4 separate regions of the Homo sapiens genome follow, and regions 1, 2 and 4 are each linked to region 3. Evidence: promoter capture Hi-C in human tissues and cell types (Jung and others, 2019). All regions are on one chromosome and are shown on one strand. The core of a region is centred on a gene start or on the middle of the fragment in contact, and the rest is flanking DNA. Distances in the headings are between cores, read along the strand shown. Region 1 holds the start of AMACR (alpha-methylacyl-CoA racemase). Region 2 holds the start of SLC45A2 (solute carrier family 45 member 2). Region 3 has its middle 61 kb from the start of C1QTNF3-AMACR. Region 4 holds the start of C1QTNF3 (C1q and TNF related 3).

Region 1 (6,573 bases), core at 4,061-6,560, 180 kb before region 3:
ATAAATCCGGTGCTGCTATCTCATGCAGCGACTATGCCATGAGTACGCCAAGAGCTGGCCCACAAAAGATAAACCACACTCCCCTGCTGCTGGTACACACTTCAGAGAGGGCACACTGGAAAGTGTGAGATGTGCCCTGATGACAGTGTCCCACAGGCACACACTCAGTACAGGGCTGGTCATGATTCACCATGAACAGGAGAAGGAAGCGCAGGCTGAAGCTTTGGAGATGAGGGGGTTTCTGGTAGAAAATGGATTTTGTGAAGATCAGCCAGGACCCAATCCAGTTGACACTCTCAGTCTCTAAACTCTTGAGGTATCCACCAACATTTGACCCTCTGACCACTCCTTTCTTTGGTTTCCATGACAACACTCCATTCTGCTTCTCTCCTTAGCTGTCCTCAGCCCTTGCTTCTCTTTTCTGCCCACGCATTCCTTAAATGCCGGTGTTCTATCCCCTTTCCTAGTGGATCACATAGTCTCATATGGCTCCCAAATAACTCCGAAATCTGTTTCTAGTCCCTAACCTCAAGTATCCCACCTGGATATCTGAAAGGCACTTTAAAACTGAAAAGACCAAAACTGAGTTCCTTTTCTTCTAGTAAAAATAACCACAATGACAAACTTTTACAGAGGGCCCACTGTACGCCAGGCACTGTTCCCACACTGAACAATGGATGAACTCATTGAATTCTCATAGCAACTAACAATGCTATGAGGTGGATGTCATTATTATCTCCATTTTACAAAGGAAACTACAGCACAGAGAGGTTAAGTAACTTGCCCAAGATCACAGAGCTAGTAAATGGCAGAGCTGGGACGGAGGTAGTCAGCTGCCACTCTATGCTCTGACCACTGTGTTCAGCAGTCTTCCCTCAAGACACTAGCAGGTCATCTAAGCCAGAAACCTGGGAGCCAGCCTCAACTTCTCCCTCTTCGCTCCCTGTCAGTCCATTATCAATTCCCAGCAATTTTATACCTCAAATGTCCCTTCAATGCAAACCAACTCTACCATTAACTGCTTTAGTACTTGCCCTGATCTCTTCAGCAATAACCCAGTCATTGGTCTCTGTACCTCCAGTCTTGTCTCCTCAGATCCATTCTCCATCCCACCTCCAAATGTCTGTGAAAATGCAAACACGCAGTGGTGGTGCTGGAGTGGGCTCTCTTACCCACTAGCTGTGAGATCTTGAGCAAATGGCAATGCTTCCGTTCCCTCCTCTTTAAAACAACAAGGTATTCCAAATGCAGTTTTGAGAATAAGAAGAAATCACACAGGGAATGTGCTCAGCAGAACATGAGGCAAGCACTCAGTGGATGACAGTGAACAAACAGAAGTGTTATGATATCAGAGCATCCCCTATAAAACGCAGCAGGAAGGTTTAGACAGGGAGGTCCATTTGACCTTAGCATTCCTAAGAATTTTCTCTACCAGCTGAGGGAGACTTCTTGAACTTTTTTTGAATGACGACTGCTTGAAAATGATATACTAAGCACAAGAGATACTTGGGGAAAATTGTTGAAATATTTAGGTTGGCAAATATTTGGCAAAACCTGCAATTACTTTTGCACCAACCTAAAACAACGTAGGAATCACATGAGTCACAGAAAGTTCAGAGAACTGACTCCAAGGACAGATGATCAAAATATGACATTCTAACAGATATATAAAAGACATAAGTCTATTTTAAAAAGAAAAGGATATCCTTGGTAACCTGGCTTGAAACTTCAAATGTCATTTATCTCTTGTCTTCTTCTTCAAAAAAAGGATTTTAAGCAGCTATATCTTAAACTTAGGGACAAGTGGCAGGCATCTACCCCAATTAATACTTACCATATTTGCATCAATGACCTGACCCTTGCCAGTGCGTGTGCGGTCAAAAAGAGCCATTATAATGCCCAGTGCACACATAAGGCCACCACCAGCAAAGTCAGCCAGGAGATTCAGCGGGGCATACGGATTCTCACCACTTCTGCCAATTTTTGAGAGAACACCTACATCATTAAAAACAAATTTAATGTCTCTTTTAAATTTAATCTCTTCTTAAAATAAATATGTGAGCATCTTAGAGGAATAATCAATCTCTCCAGCAGATAATCTAAGTGAAAGCTAGTATACATCACTTTTCCAAATCTGAGCTTAGTCAGTAAACTCATAAACAGGCTTTCCCTCAAGACAGGATCCTTGTTTTGTTGTTTTCCTCTCTAAAACCTATTCCAACCAACATTTTCAAATATTGCTAAGTTTTTACTCACTTACTTTTGGAAAAGAAAATGATTATTTATTTTGTGGTTTTAAAACAGTAAATGCACTTTCATTCTTAGCATAAAGAAATGTAAGAAAATACTTGCAGACAAGAAAAAAAAGGAATTTAATTTTTAAGTAGATGTGAAGAGACAATTCTATACCCACTTCTTTCCTCAACTTTTAAATGTGTACTCACAGAAAATCTGAAATGTCCTATAGTCAACAACACATGGTTCTTAGAATTCTGGAATCAGGCCTATCTCACATGTCGTCACAGGCAAAAACTCTAATAAAGTGATATTAGGACCTGAAAACCATGGGCTTTTTTTAGTGCTCATAGAAGTCTGAAACAATGACTCAGGCAATGATTCTCAATATGGTGGGTGGAGATTTCGGGGTCCGGGGGAGAAGTAGCTGTCAGAATCTAACTATGTCAACATTTTCAAACCACAGAGCAACCATCCGTAGTACCCAGTAAGCCTCTTAATTCCTAGCAGGGGTTTGTCTGAGAATTGACTCAACAAATGTAGTAAATAAATGATAGTAGTGGGCATGTATTAACCTTCCAACCTGTTAAGGGATGGGGTGAGGGAAGGTTGAGAATGATTGTTTCAAGACTCAAACCGATCCATTTTGAACACCCATGCTCTCTTGATTGATTCTGATAAATGTTTAAATTTTTACCTTTACAAATTATTGTTAATCAACATACCTGTAGATCTTGATGGAATAAATTAAAAGTGTAGACTAAATTTTTTTTCAACATACCTGACAAAGCCAAATAGTTGATATCGTGGCCAGCTAACCGGCAGAAGCTTCCTGACTGGCCAAATCCACTCAGCCTGGCATAAATAAGCCTTGGATTTTCCCGCTGCAGAATCTCTGGGCCCAGCTGGAGTTTCTCCATGACACCTTAAGAGAAAAGTAACGATCTTCTTAAGAGAGTATGAATTGAGGATGGAGATAATCCCTTCTCTGAGACAAACATAAAATAGCACCATTGCAAGTAATATTAATAACATTTGCTGTAGGCTAATGGCATGTTTACAGCAGTTAAGGACTCAAAGAGTGAAGCCACCATTTCTGGAATGTGTGGCTTCTTCCCAGGATGTAATTTCTCCCAGTACATCTCTGTTTCCCTCTAGGTTTATCCAAGCCTATTTATTCAATCCCCAGAGCAGGGTCTCATCCCTTTAGTAAATCCCTTTTCTCTTTTTCTATACCGCATCAGTGTTTACCACATCCCACCTTAGCTGCACTTGCTTGTACATGCATACACTTATCTTCCCTATCAGCTCATGAGCTCCTCCTGCAGAATTTACACCTGATGTTTCCACAGGCGCTAAAGTGCCTAGCATCAGTACCTTCACGAAAAAGTTTAGCACCCATCTGTAGAAAGAGTGGTTAGTGACAATAGCACCTGAGAGTTTTTAAGCTATCAACAAGTATAGTATTTATAGCACAAACCCCAGGTAACCAGCACCTGAAATTTCCTGGGATTAAAAGTAATCAAAATTACATAATAAACTCACTATCTTTACCTTCCTAAGGCTAAAATAAATCACAGAAAACCTCTAGTCATCTACCTAAACACCAGTCACAACTCCTCACCCGGAGGCTATATCCGTATTCCCAGCCGACCTTCCTCCTAATTACAAGACCTTGGACAAGCCTCCCTCATCTTAAATGGAGCATTCTTAAATTATTACATAATCTTAATTATTAAATCATTATTGTTACAAGCCTCAAATACAGCTGTGAGGGTTAAATGAGTTAACGCATTTAAATAAGCCGGCTGTGCCGTAGGCATTCATTCATTCACCATTTACCGATTTCCCACTATAGACCAGGCAATGCTTTGGATTTCTACTTGAACAAAGTTATTCTGGCAGCTGTCTGAGAATCCACTGGAGTGATACCAGCCCCAAACACCAGTTTTTAAAAGGCTGTCACACCAGTGTCAAGGCAGTTGCAGCAGGTATGGAGAGAAATAGTCCGAGTGGGCTAAGGAGCAAAATGACTGTATTGATGATCATTGAAATTGGATGTGAAAGGAAGACTGGAGTCCATGATGAAGTACAAGTTTGAGATTCAGGCATTCACTGAAATAAATAATACAGAAGGTGGAGATGCTGTTTTAGAAGGAAGAAGGAAAGGCTCATTTTGGGATTTGTGGAAGCTGCCTGGCGGGCAGCCTTGACGGCGATGCCCAGGACCTGTGTATGCCAGCGTCTGCCGCTCTGAAAGGGGGAAGTCTACAAAAAGGTGAAAATGATGGGAATGGGTAACTGGGCTTCAGGGAGCAGATGCTGAGACTTAGAACGCCAGCATTTCAGGCAGGGAGGAGCGTTAGCCTGGGCCCGTGGATGGCTTGAGGGTACAGCACTCCAAAACGGTAGCCGAATGACCGCCTATATGCAGTTTTCCAGGAAGGGAATCCTATGGCTTTCATTAGATTCTCACAGGGTTCAAGACCCTCAATTAATTAAGAAAGGCAAATACGGAACGTTTCTTAGAAAAAAAAGGAGGAATTTGGGAAGGAGTCAGAGAGGCAAAAGGAGAAACCGGGCAACAGCAGTATCTCAGAACCCAAGTTTTGGACAATCCAGTTTGGGAAGAATGATCACTAACAATACCCTAGGAGGCAAAAATCTGGAAGGCTGGGGCCGACAAGGGTTCTTGCGGCAACAGGGCAAAGGTGTGGCGGGTGCAGCCTCGATCGAACGGCCAGGCCCCTCCCCTCCGCGGGAACTTCCCGAGAGCAGCCCGCGGGGCCCGGGCTCACCGCGGCGGAAGGGCTCCAGCAGCACATCCGACCGCTTGCACAGACGCCGCAGCACGGCGGCTCCCCGCGGCTGCTTCAGGTCCAGCACTAGCGAGCGCTTGCCCCGGCCCAAGCGGCTCACGTCGTAGCGGGAGCCGGGCCGGTCCACGCGTACCACACGCGCCCCGAAGTCAGCCAGGACCATAGCACAGAACGGGCCCGGGGCCAGGCCGGACAGCTCCACGACCGAGATGCCCTGCAGTGCCATGGCGCTTCCCAGTGCCCCGCTGAAGGAAACTGAGCAGCCCTTAGCCCCAGCCCAGCAGCCTGCAAGAAGCCCTCCCAATCCCCGGCGCCACGCCCCCAGCCGCGGCGCCGCGCCCCAAAGGCACCACCCCCGTCCCTCTTTTGCGGGCCTGCGCAAGCCCGCGGAGTCTGCGCACTGGGCGCTTCCCCACCCCCGGCCTCCCGGGACCGCCAGTGCCAAATGCAGTAGGTTGCTTTCCTTTTTGTGCAACCTAAATTCCTGAGTCTTAAATTGCAGGGACTGACCTTTGGAGCTCCTGCCTGTTACCGTCCTCTCTGGACGCTTTTATTGTACCAGGGCGATCCCCAGCCCAACTGTACCATTCGAGTCCCTACTCCTGCCTTGCTCTAGGGAAATAAAATAACGTAAACACGTAAGAACAATGCGAAAGCGTTTTCTTCCCTAGGCTGCAGATTGTCTTCTTCACCGCCCCTGCTTAGCTAGCTAGCTAGCTGGGAATTTAATCCAGAAACGGCTTGCGATACCTCCTAGATGCACTCGTTTTGAGTTACAAACTCCGCGGATTACATGTCTTTTTAAAAAAGTTTAGACTACACTAGGAAAATTATTTTAGTATCAGAAGAATATCAGGGGTGTAGTACTCATCAGAGCTAAATGAGAGCGCTTTAAAAATGTTAGTTTGTCTTCCGCCATTTCTACAGAAAGCTGCAATTTCAGGTTTTCAACCTAATAGGTGATATTTAAGAAAAAAAAAAAGCAATCGCAAATAGCCCCACTGCTTTTACAAATCATTTTTTCTCTTCTAGGTATAGCCTGTCAGGTGGCCTAATGTAATTTTTGACATCTCTAGGAATTTTAATAGAACCAGAAATGGGTGCCAGAGATATGCCTGCACTAATCTTAAGTGGGGATTTATGTATTTCTCAAGCAAGTGATTAAAGCAAAACTAGGCACGATTGAAATCAAGATCTTTTAGGCAAGAAAGTCATGATGAGTTTTAGAATTATTTTAGGACTCTGTGGCTTTCTCTTCATAGAAATAGAAAAAAAAATTGTATAAAACCACAAAAGGTCCTGAATAGCCAAAGCAACACTGAACAAAAAGAACAAAGCAGGAAGCAACACACTACCAGAATTCAAATTATACTACCAAGGTGTAGTAACCAAAACAGCATTCTATTGGCATAAAATAGACACAAAGACCAATGGAACAGAATAAAGAACCCCAAAATAAATCCATATATTTACAGCCAGCTGATTATCAATAAAAACACCAAGAACATATATTAAGGAC
Region 2 (7,438 bases), core at 3,048-5,547, 200 kb before region 3:
TCTCAAGAAGCCAGCATGAGCCAGCTGTAAGCACACCACTGCTTTCAAGGCTCAGCTTCCACATCTGAAAAATGGGAATCACACCACTTCCACATGGCCATTGTCAGGATCGAGATAATGTAAGAGAAAATACCTAATACATGGTTATTATCATACATGGGGTATTTGAGAAATGTTTGTTCAGTATTTACTGAGCACCTACTATGCAGCAGACACTTCCAGGAACTGAAGATTCATCAGAGAACAAAACAACAGGTCTGCTCAGCTGGGATTGATGTTCTAAATGGGAGAGACAACCAGAAAGAAAAAAGAGAAGGAGAGAGAGAGACAGATGATAGATAAATAAATAGCCAGTCAGTTAGTCTGGTATTGATAAGCACTAGAAAGAAAAATCAAACCCAATAAGGATGAGGAGAAAGAGGAGTGGTCATACTATGCCAGGTACGGTAGCCAAGAAAGACCTCACTGATGAGAGATATCTGATGAGAAATCTGAGTGGAATAAAGGCATGACTATGGGATTATATGGGGAAGGGTGTCCCAGGCAGGGCAAGAGCTCATGCCAAACCCTGGGGCAGGTATGATGGGCTGGGCTGACCCCAGAGACAGAAGGACGCCAGCGGGGTGGGAGCACCCGAGTGAGGAGACACACGTGGAAAGTGCAGTGGGAAGGGAAGCCAAGAGCAAAGGTGAGGCAGGGGAAGTCTCAAGCCCTGGCCATGTCTTAGGTGCCTTTAAACACCTGGAGACATAGTGGGCAGGGGCCAGTGACAGACGGGGCTGCACTCCTGCCCCTCTGCCTTCCTTACACAGAGGAGGATCTACCAACTGTGCTCCAACGGCCTCACTCCTTCATGTTTTCAACTATTCAAATGTTTGCTCAAATGACAAATATTGGCTCCAGTGGCTTCCATGGGCAGGCAGCAGTCTTAGCTCTAGAGACAGAAACTATGAGCAAAACTTGAAATCTTGCTTTTCATGGACCTACCTGGCCATGGAAGGAGAGAGAATACATCAAAACATAAATAAAGGCATTGGCTGGGCTACAAAGACAATCAAATAAGGTGGGCTGATAGAGTCCCCCTCTTAGATATAAAAATCCTCTTGGGCCAGGATCCTCCTGTCGCCTTATATTTCAATGCCTAGTTCTAGCATAGTCCTAACTGGTGCTCTGAGTAGCATTGCTCTAAACAATTGACCAACAGTAACCAAAGTAGGCTGGCAACAGTCCCAAGAGATCAAGAGAGCTCCCATTTTCCTCCTGGCATGAACTTTTTCAAACCACAAGGTTGAGGAAATGCCAACCTTTTACATAACTAAGAAATTTCTAAGACGTTGAGTTTTTTGTTTGCTTGGTTTGTTTTCTCTTTTTGTTTTTTAAACCTGCCACAAAATCATCTGGGGTCTTTATTAAATAAAATACAAATGTCTGGGCCCCGCCTTAGACTCACTGAATCAGAATAACTGGAGAAGGAGCCCAGGCAACTGTATTTTCAATGACCTTCTAAGGAATGTGGATGCTACATTGCTGATGCTTGAGATCCTCTGCTCTAATGCAAAAGTACAATCCACAAGGCTTCTTTCCATTTCAGTTGTAATTGTCTCCACAAAGCATTCTTAAGAAAGCTCTTCTGTAAACTTCCTTTGCAGAAACTGCAGCACTAGTCACAAGCTGACTGTTCAGAGAAATGCACGGGGAGACAGTGCCCGCATGACGGGAGCAGCCCATCAGCTGACCCGTTCATTCAAAAAACTCCACGTGTAGAGACACTGGATGGCTTTAGTGGAAGTGCCTCATTGTCTGGGGAGCTGAAGGAGAGACTTTCTGGAATATTCCCTACCTGTGAAGAGGGCATGGTAGTGGAGGCCCTTCTCCTTGTCCTGATGGGAGCAGACATCAAATAAGTAGGCTTTGATGGGCCCATCAATGAAGTCGGCAGCAAAATCAAAGAGAACGACACCTATCATGGTGACACTTATGGCCCAAACCAGCTTCCTCCTTGGGTTAGCAATCAAAGCTAAAAGAAAAATAAACATTGGTCTCCTAAATCCTGTTTTAGAATCATCCGCGTTTTGTAATTTCCACCTAAACTTCTTGCCATAAAATCATCTTCCTTGCTTTTATTTTGCTTTTTTCCAAATAAAAATAGCTTTACATTTTTTTTCAGGTTTTAAAAATTATGCAAGCGAATGTCCAGAAAACACAAATCTATGGAGACACAAAGTAAATTAGTGGTTGCTTAGGGCTGGTGCATAGGGGAAAAGTGGACGTGACTATTGATGGTAATGGGTTTATTTTGGGGGTGATGAAAATGTTGTAGAATTAGAGAGTGGTAATGGTTGCACAACATACTAAAGGCACTGAATTGTACACTTTTAATTAGTGAAATTTCTGGTATGTAAAATATCTCCTTAAATAAAAAAGTATGCATGCTTATCGCAAGCAATTCCAATTCTATTAAAAAAGCTGAGGGAGATGCTTCCAATCCCAGCCCCAGCAAAGGTCAGGCTTTAAGGCCTCCTTTTACGCACTTCTGCACATACAGACACACGTGTACAATGGTAGTCAAACGCAGTGCTTCTCAAAGTCTGGCATATTGAACTATCGCTTGTATGTCTTGTTAAAACACAGATTGCTGGCCCCATTTCCCAAGACTCTGATTCAATTGGTGGGCCTGAAGGGGGCCCGAGAAACTGCATCTCTAACGGTCTCTGCTGATGCTGAGGGGCAGGTCAGAGGCCACATCTTTGAACAGCACTGATGCAGTAACCAACTTTCTTCATATAATTTCAGCTCCTCACAATTTTTAACAGCTGGATTTTCATTCTACGGATACGCTGTAATCGTTTACCCAATCTCCTATAAAAGATACATTGTTGTTTCTCTTGTTTCCATTTGCTTTTTAAACTTAAGAATAGCATAGATTATATACACGTTTTAAAAATTGCAGTATAAAATTAAATGAACAATAAGTCTACCCGCCACTTCTCACCTCCTGTCCTTCAGTAATCCTCCTTAGAGTCAACAATGCTTATCAGCTTTTTGTTCATTCTCCTGGAAATATCCTACATTTGTACATTTACGCTTTCTTTCAAATATGTACAAATGATAATTGATTATCCTGCCTCATAATCACCGATTCTGCTAGCTTGAGAGTTAATGATCTACAAATGTGTGCTATTTTTAGCGATCCTTTTTGCAATGCAACTTTATTGTACTACCATCAATTACTGATTAATTGGTAGCTGATTAATGGCTAGAAAAAATGCCTACCCTCAGGTTTGCTTTTGTCCAGAATTTGCAATGCCAGAAAGGTCCTCTTGAGCTGATGGGCTTATGCCCTACGCCTATTAAAACGCTCTACATAAAACTATGAACAGAATTAACTTATTTGGATACACAGGTGACTTATTGTAAATATTTATGGAGCTATTTGGCAGCCAGTCAATTTGATAAGAGTATTAAATAGAGCATAATGGGCTCAAAAAGTAACTCAATTGATAAATATGTAAAAATATTCAATTCGATAAAATAGATACAAATTTAATAAAATAGATACAAATTTAATCCTATTTTTAAATCTTCACAACAATGAAACATATTTATTTTGATATTTCTAGAAGTAGAGGCTCCCCAACCACAGAATCTGGGCCAAATTTGTCAAAGGGGAAGTTCATTGTAACCTAGGAGAGATCAATTCTAACAAATTTCTAGGAAAGGTCAAACACATGAACATCCTCCTCCTGCAGAGGTACACACTAAGACACATATCCCTGTCTGCCCACCTTGTGCAGCCCACTTACCTGCTACAACAGTAGCCCCATTGAGGTACAGAGCCATGCCCACGAGCATCATGACTCCCAGGGTGAGGATGTAGGGTCTCCGGCGGCCCCACCTGGACCGGCAGTGGTCGCTGGCCGATCCGACCACGGGCTGCAGCAGGAATCCCAGGATGGGGCTGAGGAACCACACAATGCTGTACAGGCTGCTGGGCAGACCTACGCTGAGCAGGACTGGGGTCACATACGCTGCCTCCACCGCGTAGCAGAACTCTCTTCCGAACATGGCCATGCTGTGCATGATGAGTCTGCTGGTGGGTCTTTTAGGCGGCTCCACAGAGTCAAAGGGGCCATCATCAGCTAGGGATTTATAGATGTGGCGGCCAGCCTGCCCACTGTTGCTACCCATGGCCACTGGGAGAGGAACCTTCCTGCGAGCCCACCACCTCCTGCGTGGTCCTAGGGTCTGTGTTTCAAACTGGATTTGACGTGGAGCCTGGCCGAGCAACCAACAGAGATGGTCAGGCTGGGGGAGGGGCTCAAATTCTTTCCTGCCTCTAAGATCACAAGTTATGATGAGAGGGAGGGGGTGGTGCTGGAAAGCATGACAGAGATTAGCAGCTGTGAATCAGCCCTCTGGCTCCATAAGACGTTGGAATACTTTTCTAAAGGGATCCTCCTTTGTACTGTTCCCTCTCTCTTTCTCTCTCTCTCACACACACACACAATTACACGTGATCACACACATGGCTTCTCTCCCTCTCACACACACGTTATTACACGTGATCACACACATGGGCTCTCTCAGACAGTATTACACATGATCACACACATGGTTTCTCTCTCACACACACATGCTATTACACATGATCACACACGTGGCTTCTCTCACACACACATTATTACACATGATCACACACATGGCTTCTCTCACACACACGCTATTAAACGTGATCACACCTGGCTTCTCACACACACATGCTATTACACATGATCACACACGGCTTCTCACACACATGCTATTACACATGATCACACACATGGCTTCTCTCACACACATTACACATGATCACACATGGTTTCTCACATACATGCTATTACACATGATCACACACGGCTTCTCTCATGCATGTTATTACACATGATCATACACATGGCTTCTCACACACATGCTATTACACATGATCACACATGGCTTCTCTCACACACATTACACATGGTCACACATGGCTTCTCTCACATGCGTTATTACACATGATCATACATGGCTTCTCTCTCACATGCTATTACACATGATCACACATGGCTTCTCATGCATTTTATTACACATGACCACACACATGGCTTCTCTCACACACGTTATTACACATGGTCACACATGGCTTCTCTCACGTTATTACACATGATCATACATGGCTTCTCTCACACATTATTACACATGACAGCTTCTCTCTCACACACTATTGCACATGATCACACATGGCTTCTCTCACACACACATGCTATTGCACATGATCACACATGGTTTCTCTCTCACACACGTTATTACACAACGATCACACACGGCTTCTCTCTCATACACATTATTACACATGACCACACACATGGCTTTTCTCTCACACACACTATTACACATGATCACACATGGGGCTTTTCTCGTTATTACACATGATCGGACTCATGGCTTCTCTCACACACACATGCTATTACACATGATTGCACACATAGCTTCTCTCTCACACACGTGTTATTACACATCACACACGGCTTCTCACACACGTTATTTTACACGATCACACACATGGCTTCTCTCACACACGTTATTTTACATGATCACACACATGGCTTCTCTCTCACAGACGTTATTACACATAATTACATATGGCTTCTCTCTCTCATACACACATGCTATTACACATGATCACACACATGGCCGTGAGGTAATAAAGCCTTATTACATAGAGTTTGTCAAAATGTAAATAAATTGATATCTTTTCATAAACTTTTTATAAATATAGACATTCTATTTTTTACTACAAGTTTTCCACACACACAGCTCAGGAGTGAAATAACTAGATTTAAAATGGTGGCAGGTCACACCCTTCTTCAAATCATTAGCTGTGTCAGATCGCCCTGATATTTCTCCTCGTGGTACTTAACACATTTTACAATGAGATAATTCTGGGTTTATTCCATATCCTGTGTTTGTCTTTGATTTCCTCAAGAGCGGAGAACAGGTCTGTTTTGTTCATTATGGTATCCCCAGCAAGTATCATGATACCTGGCACCTAGTAGATCCTCAATAAACATTTGCTAAAGGAATTACTGAGTGAATAAACCATACACACTGCATTTTGTGCTGCCTGTCTGCTCAGATCTATTTCCTTTGGTGCTCTTTATCTTATGGGGCTACATTTCCAGGGTTCCCTTGTTTTCTGGCTTCTAGGTAGATTTGGCTAATGGGAGACACTGGTAGGAAGACTAGGGGAGAGAGAGAAGGAAAGAAGCCAGGATATTTCCCTAGATTTCTTTCTTCTCCCTGAGGTATTACTGCCAGTGTCTATGTCTCCAAGGTGGGTGCAGCAACTTTGGCTTCTGGGTCCAAGTACACCAGCTTTCCCATCACCCCTGCAACCATAGGAGTGGTCTTGGCTTCCTAGTTATGTTCCTATCAGGGTTGCCTCACTATCTTCTGGGCTTCTCTGCTCTTTCGTCACCAGTGGAATTCTTTATATTAAATTTCCTCTGTTTTAAAGACTTCGAGTGGGTTATATTTTCCTTGCTGGACCGAGTTCAAATGAAAAGTCTGAGTTGTAGGGAAAACATCTTTTTTATTATTATTATTTTTATTTATTTATTTAGAGACAGGTTCTTGTTCTGTTGCCTGGGCTAGAGTGCAGTGGTGCAATCCTAATTCACTGTGGCCTCAAATTCCTGGGCTCAAGTGATCCTCCTGCCCCACCCTTGAGTAGATAGGACTACAGGCACACACCACCATACCTGGATAATTTTTTTATTTTTATTTCGTAGAAACGGAGGTCCAGCCAAGTTCCCCAGGCTGGTCTCGAACTCTTGGCCTCAAGTGATCCTCCATGCCTGGGCTGGAAAACATAACCTTATGGGAAAGTTCCTAAAAATGGTTGAAGAACAAGACTGAAGGCTAGAATATGAAAGCTTAAATTCTGATTCTGCCCCTTCCTAGTTGCATATTCCTGAGCAAATATTTTCAACTGGTATTTCTAAAACTGTGCCAAGGCACCCAGGGCATTAGAGTGACCTCACAAGAGTATCTCAGAATATTTAAAAATTTGAACACACAAACACAATGAAACTCAACATCTGTCAGACATCACGTGAACTACTAGTGAGGTAGTTCATTCTTTCAACATAAGATTGCACTATAATCCTTCTGATAATTTCATATTTTTGTGAGACTGGGTTTTCCAGGCCATCTGATAAAAAATCAAGTACTATATGGACACCAACATGGAGCAGAAAATGAGGGCAGCAGTGTCCAATCTCATTCCAGGTGAGAAGTTGCACAGTGTCCAATAGGTGCATACATCTCCTTAGTAAGTAGTTGTGATTAACAATGAAATAGAAATGAAAAATATATTTTTTTATTTATGTGTATTATATTTTTCAAGCAGCTAATAAGT
Region 3 (6,549 bases), core at 3,878-6,377:
AACTCCTGGCCTAAAGTGATCCGCCCGCGTCAGCCTCCCGAAGTGCTGGGATTACAGGCGTGAGCCACCATGCCCGGCCTACAAAAAAAATTTTTTTAATTAGCCAGGCATGGTGGCATGTGCCTGTAGTCCCAGCTACTCAGGAGGCCAAGGGAGGAGGATTGCAGCTCAAAGCTGCAGTGAGCTGTGATCAGGCCATTGCGTTCCAGCCTGGGTGACAGAGTGAGACCATCACAAATAAATAAATAAATAAATAAATAAATAAATAAATAAATAAATAAAAAATCTGGGCCTCCCGCCAAGGGTGGGAAACATCAGAAAGCTCAGAAAAGCTCAGAGGACCACACCTGCCCGTTCACCTGTCCTGGGCTCCTGCTGAAGCCAGGGCTACCAGATGGGAGCTAAAGACCTCCCTTAAGCAAGTCCCAAACCACCATTACCTCCCACGAGTACAGGTAGGCGGGGTGTTCGTGCATCAGGTACGGCCACCAGAGGTTGGCACCCAGCACCTTCAGCTGGCCCTGGGTCCCAGCCTGGTTGTCCACGACTTTGTTGTCTGATTTCAAAAGACACACTTCCAACTTGAACTGGTTACTGCACTTGACGGAGATATGGTAATTCACCAGCCCTGCAGGAGGCAAGAGAGACCAGGGCTTAGGGAGGGACATGACCTGGGTCACACGAACAGGAATGCCCCACAATGACCACTCCCAGGCACTCTCATTTGCTTCTGTTGCTTTTTTTTTTTTTTTTTTTTGAGATAGAATCTCGCTCTGTCACCCAGGCTGGAGTGCAGTGGCATGATCTGGACTCACTGAAACCTCTGCCTCCCAGGTTCAAGTGATTCTCCTGCCTCAGCCTCTGGAATAGCTGGGATTACAGGCACCTGCCACCACATCCAGCTAATTTTTGTATTGTTAGTAGAGACCGGGTTTCACCACATTAGCCAGGATGGTCTTGATCTCCTGACCTCGTGATCCGCCTGCCTCGGCCTCCCAAAGTGCTGGGATTACAGGCTTGAGCCACCGTGCCCGGCCCTGAACCAATGCGCCCGGCCCGCTTTTTTTTAATTTAATTTTTTAATTTTCTTTTTTTTTTTTTTTTTTTTTGAGATGGAGTCTCACTCTGTCACCCAGGCTGGAGTGTAGTGCTGCGATCCTGACTCACTGCAACCTCCACCTCTGGAGTTCAGGTGATTCTCCTGCCTCAGCCTTCCGAGTACCTGGGAATACAGGAATGCACCACCATGCCCGGCGAATTTTTGTATTTTTAGTAGAGACGGAGTTTTGCCATGTTGGCCAGGCTGGTCTCGAACTCCTGATCTCAGGTGACCCACCCGCCTCAGTCTCCCAATAGATTAGATATATTATTAACGAATTGCTTCCTTTAACACGCTATTCATTGAATTTTCCAGTAAACCACAATTACTAATTACTCCTGAAATCAGAAAAGAGGTTAAAAAGATTTTATAACAGTATCTTATGAAATCTACTACTTTCAAGTAATAGTAGTTGAATTACCAAAACCCGTCACTCAAGCCAATGACTACAATTAAGATATCAGTAATATTTCCTAGATAAATAAAGTCAATTAATTATATTTGCATCTGGGAAATAGAGAAAGTACATATAAGCCATGATTTTGAAGTCAAAAGAGAGAGAATATTTGGCAAGGAGGGGTGAGTTATAGTATGTAATTATAACATATAGTAGTTTTTTGTATGCTGGTAACTAATTTTAATTTCCTACATTTTTATGTAGATTTCTGCTATTCTTGTGCTGTTTTCCTAATCACCTTTCTATATGGATGACTACATAAGTCTGAGAATACCAAAAGAGACAGACACAGAACCAATCGGATTCCTTTCTTCTTGAAGCTTCTGCACAGCAGAAGAAACTGTCAACAGAGTGAACAGACAACCTACAGAATAGGAGAAAACTGTTGCAACAATGCATGTGACAAAGATCTAATGTCCAACACTGATAAGGAACTTAAACAAATTTACAAGAAAAAAAAAATCTCATTAGAAAGTGGGCAAAGGACATAAACAGACACTTCAAAAGAAGACACACATGCGGCCAACAAGCATATGAAAAAAAGCCCAATATCGCTGATCATTAGAGAAATGCAAATCAAAACCACAATGGCATACCATCTCACACCAGTCAGAATGGTTATTATTAAAAAGTCAACGCCGGGCATGGTGGCTCACGCCTATAATCCCAGCACTTCAGGAGGCCAAGGCAGGCAGATCGCATGAGGTCAGGAGTTCCAGACCAGCCTGCACAACCTGGCGAAACCCCGTCTCTACTAAAAATACAAAAATTAGCCCAGCGTGGTGGCGGGCGCCTGTAATCCCAGCTACTCAGGATGCTGAGGCAGGAGAATCGCTTGAACCCGGGAGGCAGAGGTTGTAGTGAGCCGCGATCATGCCACTGCACTCTCCAGCTTAGGTGACAGAGCGAGACTCTGTCTCAAAAAAAAAAAAAAAAAAAAAATTTGAATTTTGTTTAAATCACTAACACATACTGGGCATTTAATAACAAAAAAAAGGACATGAGATTGTGATCCTTAGGAGGGTTTGAGAGGCATTTCACTAGGGTTCAACATAGAGCAGTCTGAAACATACTGTAATAATTTAATCCAATGGCTCATCTACAGCACCTAAAAAGATTACAGCAGATTCTCATTATTCAGTGTAGTTACGGTCTAGAAAGTTCCATGAACAAATAAAAAGTTAGGTTTCAGCAAGCTACTGGTCACATTTTTGTAAGCTTACCAACACCTACTTTTGTTGTATGTGTGCTTATTTAATATATATTGTTGGCCAGGCACAGTGGCTAATGCCTGTAATCCCAGCACTTTGGGAAGCCAAGGCGGGCAGATCATTTGAGGTCTGGAGTTCGAGACCAGCCTGGCCAACGTGGTGAAACCCCGTCTCTACTAAAACTACAAAAAATATATATATATATTAGCCAGGCATGGTGGCGCATGCCTGTAGTCTTAGCTACTTGGGAGGCTAAGGCAGGGGAATCGCTTGAACCCAGGAGGCAGAGGTTGCAGTGAGCCAAGACTGCACCACTGCACTCCAGCCTGAGCAACAGAGTGAGACTCTATCTCAAAAAAAATAATAATAATTAATTAAATGAAGAATAAATAAATAATATACATTGTTCATTCATTAACATTGAACTCACAGCCAATGGCACTACAGCACTCACGCCTGAATGGAGTTTATTCAATGCATGTATTTCCTCTGTAAGACACATCACAGACTTCTTGGACTTGTGAATGCTAAGCAGCACTTCAGCACTATGCTTGGGGGTTAATTTAAATGGCAAAACAACCAACAAACAATACAAAAACAGGAAAAGCATGGCATTAAATAGACCACAAAAAGGATACCTGACTATTGTATGAGAGCTGAAAAAGAAGGCAGAATATCATCCTGTTCAAACTCAAATTCTTTTGACACTCTGCGCAAACACATGACTATGAAAGGCTGTGAGTACTGATTTGGGGGTTACAAAAAATAGTAGGTGAGTTCACAAATACAAAAGCTGAAAACAAGGAGGATAGACTGTATTTTCGTAGACAATCTAATCTCAGAAGATTTCAATTCAGACAAAAATCATGAGAATTACTGTATTACAAAAGGGCACTAGATAGGGGAAAAAGAGTAAAAATCACAATTAAAACAAAGGTTCAAAATTCTGCAGCAACCATATCCAGTTACACTTTAATATGTTTGTGGCAGACTACATTATTGTTCCCAACTCATCACCCCTCCCTATATCTAAAACCTTTCCCCAAGACAATGCAGTTCCTCCTGCTAGAGATCAGGTATATTTATCTATACTATCAATGTTAGCCATGGACAAGGTATGTGCTTTGGCTGACTGAATGTTAGTGGACATGATAGAAGCAATGGCTTAAAATGTACTTCCAGAACTGGAGTTTCCTTGTGATTCTATCACTGTGACAAAAACACATTCTCAGGTAGTCCACTGATCCAAGGGGGAACAAACACACAGAAAACATACCTAGACTCTATCTGCAGCTCGCAGCCTCACCAAGCCAGGAACAGTCAACTCACAGATATGTTAGCAAAAATAAATGTTTTTCGTACCTTAAGTTTTATATAATTATTGACCTATAGTTAACTGATATACAATATACATTAATCTTAAAATATCATTATCCCATTAAAAATATTTACATTAAAAACTGAGACCACTTTCTTTCCTCCTTTTTTTTTTTTTTTTTTTTTTTAAAATTAAGAGACAGGGTGTCTCAATGTTGCCCAAGCTGGAGTTCAGTGGCTAGTGGCTATTCACAAGAACGATCATCGCACACTACCTCAAACTCCTGGGATCAAGCAATCCTCCTGCCTCAGCTTTCCAAGTCGCTGGGACTATAAGTGTGTACCACAGCATGTCAGCTCTCTCTCTCCTTCTTGACCTAAAGCCTAGCATAAAATTAGCTAAGTAGAATGTTTCCAAAGATGCCTGCATCAGTATCTCCCATCCCACATAATTTCTGTTTGATTTTGCCATTCACCCATAAAATGGTGGGATCTACCTCCCCTCCTTGCAAATTTGAGCTGGCCCTCTGATCCTGTCTAAGATCTGAAGCCAGATATTAAGGTACTTCATTAATTTCCATGTTTGTCCTCTATGCAACCTAGCAATCAAGCCAGAAGTCAAAACATACTGACATAGTTTGGATGGGTCCCCACCCAAATCTCACCTTGCATTGGAATAATTCCCACGTGTCAAGGGTGGGGCCAGGTGCAGATAACTGAATCATGGGGATGGTTCCCCCCATACTGTTCTCGTGGTAGTGACTAAGTCTCATGAGATCTGATGGTTTTATAAATGGGAGCTCCCCTGCACATGCTCTCTCCTGCCTTGCCACTATGTGAGACATGCTTTTGCACCTCCTTGCCTTCCACCATGATTGTGAGGCCTCCCCAGCCATGCAGAACTGTGAGTCAATTCAACCTCTTTCCTTTATAAATTACCCAGTCTCAGGTATGTCTTTATTTGCAGTGTGAGAACAGACTAATACAATAAGTTGATACCAGTAGAGTGGGCTGCTGCTGTAAAGATACCCGAAAATGTGGAAGCAACTTTGGAAATGGGTAACAGGGAGAGGCTGGAACAGTTTGGAAGGCTCAGAAGAGGATAGGAAAATGTGGGAAAGTTTGGAACTTCCTAGAGACTTGTTGAATGGCTTTGACCAAAATGTTAATAGTGATATGGACAATAAGGTCCAGGCGGAGGTGGTCTCAGAGGGAGATGAGGAATTTGTTGGGAAATGGAGTAAAGTCACTCTTACTATGCAAAGACACTGCAGGCACTGTGCACCTGTATTAGAAACGGGCATAAGATAGGCGGGAAAGAGTCAAAATAAGAATTTTTTTCTAGAGTTCCCTAGAGATCTGTGGAACTTTGAACTTGAGAGAGATGATTTAAGGTATCTGACAGAAGAAATTTCTAAGCAGCAAAGCATTCGAGAAGAAGCAGAGCATAAAAGTTCAGAAAATTTGTAGCCTGATGATGCAACAGAAAAGAAAAATCTATTTTCTCAGGAGACTGGGTTGTAGAAATTTGCATAAGTAATGAGGAGCCAAATGTTAATCACCAAGACAATGGGGCAAATGTCTCCAGGGCATGTTAGAGACCCTCACAGCAGACCCTCCCATCACAGGCCAGGAGGCTTAGAAGGAAAAATGCTCTTGTGAGTCCAGAACCCCCTGCTGTGTGCAGCCTAGGAACCTGGTGCCCTGCATCCCAGCTGCTCCTGCCACAGGTAAAAGGGGCCAAGGTACACCTCAGGCCATGGCTTCAGAGGGTGCAAGTTCCAAGCCTTTCAGGTTCTAGGTGGTGTTAAGCCTGCAGATGCACCGAAGAATTAACGTTCATGAACCTCCGCCTAGATTTCAGAAGATGTATGAAAATGCCTGGAAATCCAGGCAAGTTTGCTGTGCACGGGAGCGGGGGGCCCTCATGGATAACCTCTGCTAGGGCAGTGTCAAAGGGAAATATGGGGTTGGAGCCCCCACACAGAGTCCCCACTGGGGTACTGCCAAGCAGAGCTGTCACAAAGGGGCCACCATCCTCCAGACCCCGGAATGGTAGATCCACTGACAGCTTGCACTGTGTGCCTGGAAAAGCTGCAGACACTCAATGCAGCCAGAAGGGGGGGCCGTACCCTGCAAAGCCACAGGGGCGGGGCTGCCCAAGACCCTGGGAACCCACTTCTTGCATCACCTAGATGTGACACATGGAGTCAAAGGAGGTCATTTTGGAGCTCTAAGATTTGCCTGCTGGGTTTTGGACTTGCATGGGGCCTGTAGCTCTTTCGCTTTGGCCAATTTCTCCCATTTGAAACGAGTGTATTTACCCAATGCCTGTATCCCTGTGTATCTAGAAAATAACTAACTTGCTTTTGGTTTTACAGGCTCACAGGTGGAAGGGACTTGCCTTGTCTCAGATGAGACTTTGGACTATGGAATTTTGAGTTAATGCTGAAATAAGAGTTTGG
Region 4 (6,638 bases), core at 1,741-4,240, 140 kb before region 3:
TGTATGCAAAAGGCAGGTAAATTTGCAGCATGCGAGAAAGAGTTTGTCTCTAAGAAATGCTCCATCAATTTTGCAGATGGAGGCCTAGGGGTAGGGATGCAGAACTGAGCTCTACTACTAGTAAGTGACTTCTAGGAAGGAGAGTCATAGCTCCTTTTTTTAAACCTCCTGCCCCAAAAAAAGGGAAAAGAAAGAAGAGGAAGGGAAGTGGGAGGAGGGAGAAATGGGTATCCGGGAGAAGGAGGGGAGATTGACAAAGGTGAATGAAAAAGAGGCTACAGAGAAGAAAATACCAGGAAAAAAGAGCCCAGGTCTGCCCACCCCAGATCTCTGGCCATTGTACTCCACCATGAACCCACAGCTGGAGCATCTTTCCAGACCATATATCTGATTACCTCACTGTCCTGCTATGAACAAACAAAACCTAGCTAGCAAAGCAAAATCTAAGCTCCTAAACCAGCTAGCAGAATCCTTCTTGGCACTAAAGTCGTGTAATGTCCCGTCGTCCCCCCAACCCCCACCCCTGCATCCCCAACCCAGGAGCTTCAGCCACAGCCAACTCCTCACAGGCTTTCCAGTCTCTGTTGCAGCACTTTTTTTTTTTTAATTTGCTGTGGATAGTCATTCTTTTAATACCATCTTTTAAGATCCAGCTCAAAAACTATCAGTACTTTGACACTTTTGCCCAATTGCCTTTCATGTACTGACTTTATTTAACACATGGCATTTAATTAAACTTAATTTAATTAACAAAAATTTATCTCTACTACAGCCCTTCAGGATGGTTTGGACATGGGAGCTCAGGCATATTTATCTTTATATATCCCTGGCCCCCCTTTTAAAGTTTGGTACAAAGTAGAAGCACAAGAAATACACGGGAACTGAATGAATAAGAGGAAAATTGAATTACGATCAAAGAAGAGGGACAGGGGAAGTAGGGAAAGAAGGAAGAACATAGCACAATCCTAAATGCAAACTGTGGTTTCCATAGCCGTTGGTAGAGGAGTTGTAGTGAAAACTTCCAGAATGTCAGTAACTCTAAATATCCTCAATATCTCCTGTTGGTGGTTTGTTTGAAAATACTTCAGGAACCTAGAAGGTAGAGTGAAGGAGAAATGTGATTTGAATTTCAGTGGCCTGCTGGGTGTTGGTTGTCAGGACATAATGACCAAAGACAACCTTTAACTTCCTTCTGCTTCCTCTGGGGGAATCACACTGTCATGGCCAGGAAAGATACCATCTGTTGGCCAAGAAGGATACCATGTGTGAAATGGAAAGTCCAGATCAAGTCTTGGACACAAGTGAAAATATCTTCACCACAAAACAAAAACAAACAAAAACCCACACACAAATTAGTGCTAATCATTACCCTTTAGCCAAAAGATTATCAGATGAATAGACAATCTCTAAAAGTGGTTTTCAAAAGATAGGATCATATTTAGAGATTATCATTTCTTCCGTGGCTCCTTAAAGAAGCAATTTTCTCTGGATGCATCCCCCACAGAATGGTTTGGGCAACTGCCTTGTGTGGTCAAGTTAGAAGTTCTGGGTTAGTTTCAAATCTGCAATTGATTCTGTGTGTGATCTTGGTCTGACCATATAACCAAACAACCAACCCAAACTTCTGAATCCATGGTAGGAAGGATTTAGATTTCAATTACAAGAAATTCTTCAGGTCCTATTTAATGCATTAAAGTAATCAAATCTTGTAGTAAAAACCTGTATGTTCAAATATCATATAACTCAAAGTAACTCTTCTTGCCCCCTCTGACAGTTTTCAGCATACTAGATGTCTAGAGGGTAATTCAAAATATGTCTCTTCCTGTACTTAATATTTTAAATTACATTGAGTTTCACCAATTTGCAATTCACTATACTGAAATCTTAACTCACTCTCATACTACCAAGAGTTAAAGATATTTCCTTAGAGCTGAATTTATAACCTGAGAAATAGATCAAGTCCTCTGTGATTATCAGGCATCAAATCATGCTATAAGGTATGCATTTCAAACAGTTTATTTTTTATTTAACTCTTTAATTCTTTTTAAAACAGGCTGAACAGAGAGGCTTAACAATCTAGAATGCTATAAATCAAATAAACAAGACTGCCATGAAATGTCACAGTATACTCACAAATCAAAGTAAAAAAACTTTGATTGCTTTTGACAAACTCAAAGGGCAGCTTCTCCCTGCCGGAAGGGATGAAGAAAGCCCAATTCTCTTAAGAACAACAAATGATTGTCTACAGTGACCGATCTGTCTGCATGGGTCAGCACTCCTTTCCGGACCAACAGAGCAAGAAGGAAATCAAGTCCCAGCATAGCAGGAAGCTGGCTGGCCAGGTTCCCCTTTCTGATGGGGTGATGCTACGGCCACTATCCCATCACATCATTGCTGCCTCTGCTGATTTTCTAACAGAGACCGACAGTCTCTCTTGTACCCAAGAGCAATCCAGAAAGAGATTCACAAGCAGCTTAGCGAACTTCTCGAAAGCATTCATTGATTCTAAGAATCTTAGCCAAAAAAAGAACAACAACAAAACAACAACAACAACACTCATTAAGCTTTCACAAAAATCCTTAGAAGAGAATTCTGAGTACCTGGCCCCAGAATGTGGTGATCTGGGCTAGGTCATCTACCTCGGGGTGCGGTAGCTCATCTGGTCTCAGGGATTTTAGGTCTGTAGAAGTGTTATTATCCACAGTCCCAGTTTTAGGATGGCTCCGCTCTCTCACTTTCTCCCTCCTGGAGCCGCTACGGCCAGTCTGCTGGTGGCTTTGCACTATTCTTGCCACCACTTTATTAGTTCTTCCGCTCACCTCCATGTATTCATCTTGACACAGGCAAAAAGGGAGGAAAAACAAAGCCAGCAGTTGCCAATAGATGAGCTGCCTCCAAAGCATGATTCTCAACAGAGCCTCAGAGTCTCCCTGAGAAGACAGCAGAGCTCCAGGAGCGTGGTCTCCTCGGGCAGATGCCAGGACTGGAGCTGAGAGCTGCAGCGGCGGAGTGGTTTTATACTTTGGTGTGTAATAAATAAGGCTGTAGGCATGCCAGAGTGACAGCAGCCCTCCTCCCCAGGCAGAACAGCCCCCATTCATCATTTTCCCACACCACAAGCAAGAACGATTTGTGTGCACAGTTCCCAGTTGGCGAAATTCATAAATGTCACACCTTGGCACGTTTCTGTTGAAGTGTGAAGAAAACATACACAACCAGCTGGGAACAGAGAGCATGTGTCCAGCAGTTTGCTTTTGTGATTAGACATGGAAAGGCTGTGTATTTGCAGTCTAAAAAGCCTTTTGGAAAAATCTACCCTTGTGCTTGCCAGGAAATTCAGGCTTAACTGCATCAGTTTTGTCTGAAATAGCAGTGGGAACCCATTCAGGGCTTTCACGACAGCTCTTGGTTTCTAGCTGTACTGTTAGTATTTCCCCACTTTGGCCCACTTAAGGTAACTCATTTCCCCTTCCGGATACCAGTGGCAGAAGGCAGTTGGTTGCCTACAAAACACTGAGCAGGATTCAGGTGCAGTGTCTCTGGGTTTAGCAAAGGTATTTCGCCACCCTCAGCTTTACTTCTTTTCCCCATGACTTCCCAAAAGCCAAAATTAAATCAAAGTTAACTAAGTCACTTATTGTCAGATGAAGATACAACACCCTGCTTTGTGTTAAGAGAAGGCTGTCTCTGGCTCCTCTTTCTTTTGACATATTCTTGATTAAAATAGAAACGGGGCCGGGCACAGTGGCTCATGCCTGTAATCCCAGCACCTTGAGAGCCCAAGACAGGTAGATCCCTTGAGCCCAGAAATTCGAGGCCAGCCTGGGCAACTTAGTGAGACCCTGTCTCTACTTAAAAAATAAATAAATAACAAAACTGAAGAAGTGGAAAGCACCAAACACGTTATTTCAAACACAGCGTATCCAGATTAAGAGGATTCTCATGTCTTTGCTTTAGTTGCTATACTTTTATTAATTCAGCCAAAAAGAAAATGGACATTCCTAATTGCTTCAGGATAATAAATTAAGAGAATTTAAACAGTTTTGTCATCAAAAATTGCTTCTATTTACATATGATTTTATTTATATTACTCATTCACTCGCTTAAGAAAATGTTACTGGCCTTCTCTCATGAAAACTGGAGAGACCCAGGACCGTAAATAGCATGGGTGGCAAGCGTCTGATGAGAAGGGGGCGAGGAGGCACTGTGGGAAACTGAGGCTTGGAGAAGCTCAGCCTGCTGATGAAGAGTCAGAGCAGCTGGGGAAAGGGGAGAGGAGAGAGAGCTGTTGACAGCTGCCCCCATTGCTCAGCCAAGGGCCTGAGAACCAAGAGCCATCTCTGGAAGTGGCCAGAACTGTCAAAACTAGCCTGGCCCCTCCTGCAGCTACCAGAACAGCCGCTTCCAGAGTCCACACTTATACATGGAAAGGGTTTGGTGCTGGGGACGGAGGGAGAGAGTTACTCTGTGAACTAAAAGCTCTCCAGGCCACAGTTCAGGGGCCTTGGGAGTCATGTTCAGTCCAAGCAGTCAGTTCCCACCTAGTAGGGCATAAAAATTCAGCCATCTCTGTGCTACAAGTCTACCCTTGAGCATCTAAACCTTCCTCACTGGAGGATTCCTTGAGTTCTGTCATGTCCACCATTAAAAGGTAGATGTCCCTGGGAAGGGAAGTGTGTCAAACTGTTATTCTTAGTAACTGAGGATTTTCTTCCCAGACCTGGAGCTGGAGCTGGGGAAAGGATGGCGCCTGTGTTTGGAGGGTGAGCAAGTGGATGGGCTTTTGCTGTGGGAAGGAAAGCCCAGAGCAGTGTCTCAGTGGGGGTGTTCCCTCCTCAGGGAGGCCCAGAGAAAATGTCACAGGGAGACCACAAAGCAAGCAGTGGCTCTGAAATCTAGGTCACCCAATTCACAGGTTTTCCAAGAGCTGTCTCTGGCTCTCACCATCATGCATCCCCCACGAAGTGGGCCATACTGCTAAGTAACTATAAATCAGCCTCTGACTTTCTACCGCATTGAGACTTTCCATTCGTGTTTTCAATCCTGTCATCTATTCTAGTGGTTCTCAACCCTGGCTGCATATTAAACCAAGGAGCTTCTAAAAATATTAATGCCTGGACTCTATCCCAGACCAATTGAGTCAGAATCTGTACTGGGGCCTGGGCAGTTTTTAAAAGCTTCCCTCAGATGATTCTAAGGTGCATCCAGGGTTAGGAATCACTGATCCATCCTCTCATTGACTCAAAAGGAATAAATAATAATATCCATAATTTGTTAAGCACTTACCATGTGCTAGCCAAGTACTACTTTGCTTTATCTCACTGACTTCTGTTGGCAAACCTATGATCCCATCTTATAGATGAGGTGATAGAAGCTTGCAGAGGTAAAGTGACTTGTCTTGTGTTATGCAGCTGGAAAGAACTGGACTCCATCTGTCTTTCCAGAGTGAGTTCTCCTGCCTTGCTATAGAGAAAGATCTACAGAGAAGGATTCTGCAAAGAAGGATCTCTCCTTCTCTCTGCCATTGGCCCATTATTGATCTCTCCCAAGAAATCAATAATGGGTCAATGGCAGAGAGAAGAAGGTCAGTCTGAGAGCTGCCAGGGAGCCTGCCTTCAAGAATTGGGGTCAGAAAGTATTATGGGTTGGATTATGTACCCCCAAAAGAAACTTAAGTCCTAATCCCTAGTACCTGCAAATATGACCTATTTAAAAATAGGGATTGTTAAAGTAAATGAAAATAGACACCAGGCCTGAAGAATCCCTTAGCAGACAAAGCCAATTAGGTTTCATAAGTGGCCTTAACCTTGCTTGGTTTGCAAACATAGGCAAAACTTAACTTCAGCAACTTTTTGTAAATGCCTATATTAAAGAAAAACACAATGTAAGTTAAATGACTCAGAAGCTTTCCAATGGGAGAGACCAAATAAGGCAATTGTACAACTGTAACCAATCAACTATTTTATTTGCTTTATATCTGTGTTTGTCCTGTAGAAGCCTCCCCACCCCTTGTGCTCCCTTGGTAGAGCTCCTGAACCTCTTCTGGTTTAGACTCATGCCTGAGTCATGAATTGCTGTTTGCTCAAACTCTTTAAAACTGTATTGTGCCTCAGTTTACTTTTGAATAGGTCTTTAAAGGTGATCAACTTAAGATGAGGTCATTAGGGTGGGCCCTGACCCAAAATGACTGTGTCTTTATAAAAAGGGAGAACTTAGACACAGAGGCAGACATGCACACAGGAGAACACTATGTGAAAATGAAAGCAGGGATGAGGGTAATGCATTTACAAGCCAAGGAATACCAAAGATTGCCAGCAGACCACCAGAAGGTAGGTGAGAAGCGTGGAACAGATGATTCTCTCACAACCCTTAGGGGGAACCAACCCTGCTAACACCTTGATCTCAGACGTTGAGACTCCAAAACTGTGACACAATAAATTTCACTGTTTAAGTCATCTCATTTGTAGCATTTTGCTATGTCAGTCTTAGCAAACAAATAGGGAGAACATGTATGAAAACTTTTCAAAACAACAACAAAAACACTCCAGACCCAGTAGAGGTCTGGAGTCTACACATGTACTATCTTGTACACGCAGAGATGACAGTCTGAAAAGATTTAGTAAATTACTTAAGTTCAT

Evidence for each region. The method cuts DNA at HindIII sites, captures the fragments that hold promoters and counts their contacts. A contact is called where the count stands out against the background at its distance.
Region 1: a contact is called between the fragment with the promoter of AMACR here and a fragment that was not itself captured in region 3, in 1 of the 25 tissues and cell types used here (bladder).
Region 2: a contact is called between the fragment with the promoter of SLC45A2 here and a fragment that was not itself captured in region 3, in 1 of the 25 tissues and cell types used here (hippocampus).
Region 4: a contact is called between the fragment with the promoter of C1QTNF3 here and a fragment that was not itself captured in region 3, in 2 of the 25 tissues and cell types used here (hippocampus and mesenchymal stem cells).

The regions. Positions count from the first base shown.
Region 1 is chr5:34,002,740-34,009,312 of GRCh38, forward strand. AMACR (alpha-methylacyl-CoA racemase) reads right to left here and starts at 5,311. Exons shown (of 5, transcript NM_014324.6): 1 at 5,034-5,311; 2 at 3,017-3,160; 3 at 1,835-1,995. The coding sequence starts at 5,280. It overlaps C1QTNF3-AMACR (C1QTNF3-AMACR readthrough (NMD candidate)), which reads right to left. Exons shown (of 9, transcript NR_037951.1): 7 at 3,017-3,160. RefSeq lists a silencer at 5,448-5,527. The HindIII fragment of the contact is 16,164 bases long and covers 1,643-6,573 here.
Region 2 is chr5:33,980,396-33,987,833 of GRCh38, forward strand. It overlaps SLC45A2 (solute carrier family 45 member 2), which reads right to left and starts at 4,298. Exons shown (of 7, transcript NM_016180.5): 1 at 3,804-4,298; 2 at 1,841-2,017. The coding sequence starts at 4,188. AMACR (alpha-methylacyl-CoA racemase) reads right to left here. Exons shown (of 5, transcript NM_014324.6): 5 at 5,770-7,438. It overlaps C1QTNF3-AMACR (C1QTNF3-AMACR readthrough (NMD candidate)), which reads right to left. Exons shown (of 9, transcript NR_037951.1): 9 at 6,591-7,438. The HindIII fragment of the contact is 13,392 bases long and covers 1-7,438 here.
Region 3 is chr5:34,182,240-34,188,788 of GRCh38, forward strand. It overlaps a transcript of C1QTNF3 not described here and the pseudogene GUSBP18. Among named protein-coding and RNA genes, the nearest start is that of C1QTNF3-AMACR, 61 kb to the left of the region's middle. RefSeq lists an enhancer at 399-1,008 and a silencer at 6,133-6,301. The HindIII fragment of the contact is 9,368 bases long and covers 444-6,549 here.
Region 4 is chr5:34,040,223-34,046,860 of GRCh38, forward strand. C1QTNF3 (C1q and TNF related 3) reads right to left here and starts at 2,991. Exons shown (of 6, transcript NM_181435.6): 1 at 2,601-2,991. The coding sequence starts at 2,903. All of the region lies in intron 1 of C1QTNF3-AMACR (C1QTNF3-AMACR readthrough (NMD candidate)), which reads right to left. The HindIII fragment of the contact is 5,092 bases long and covers 548-5,639 here.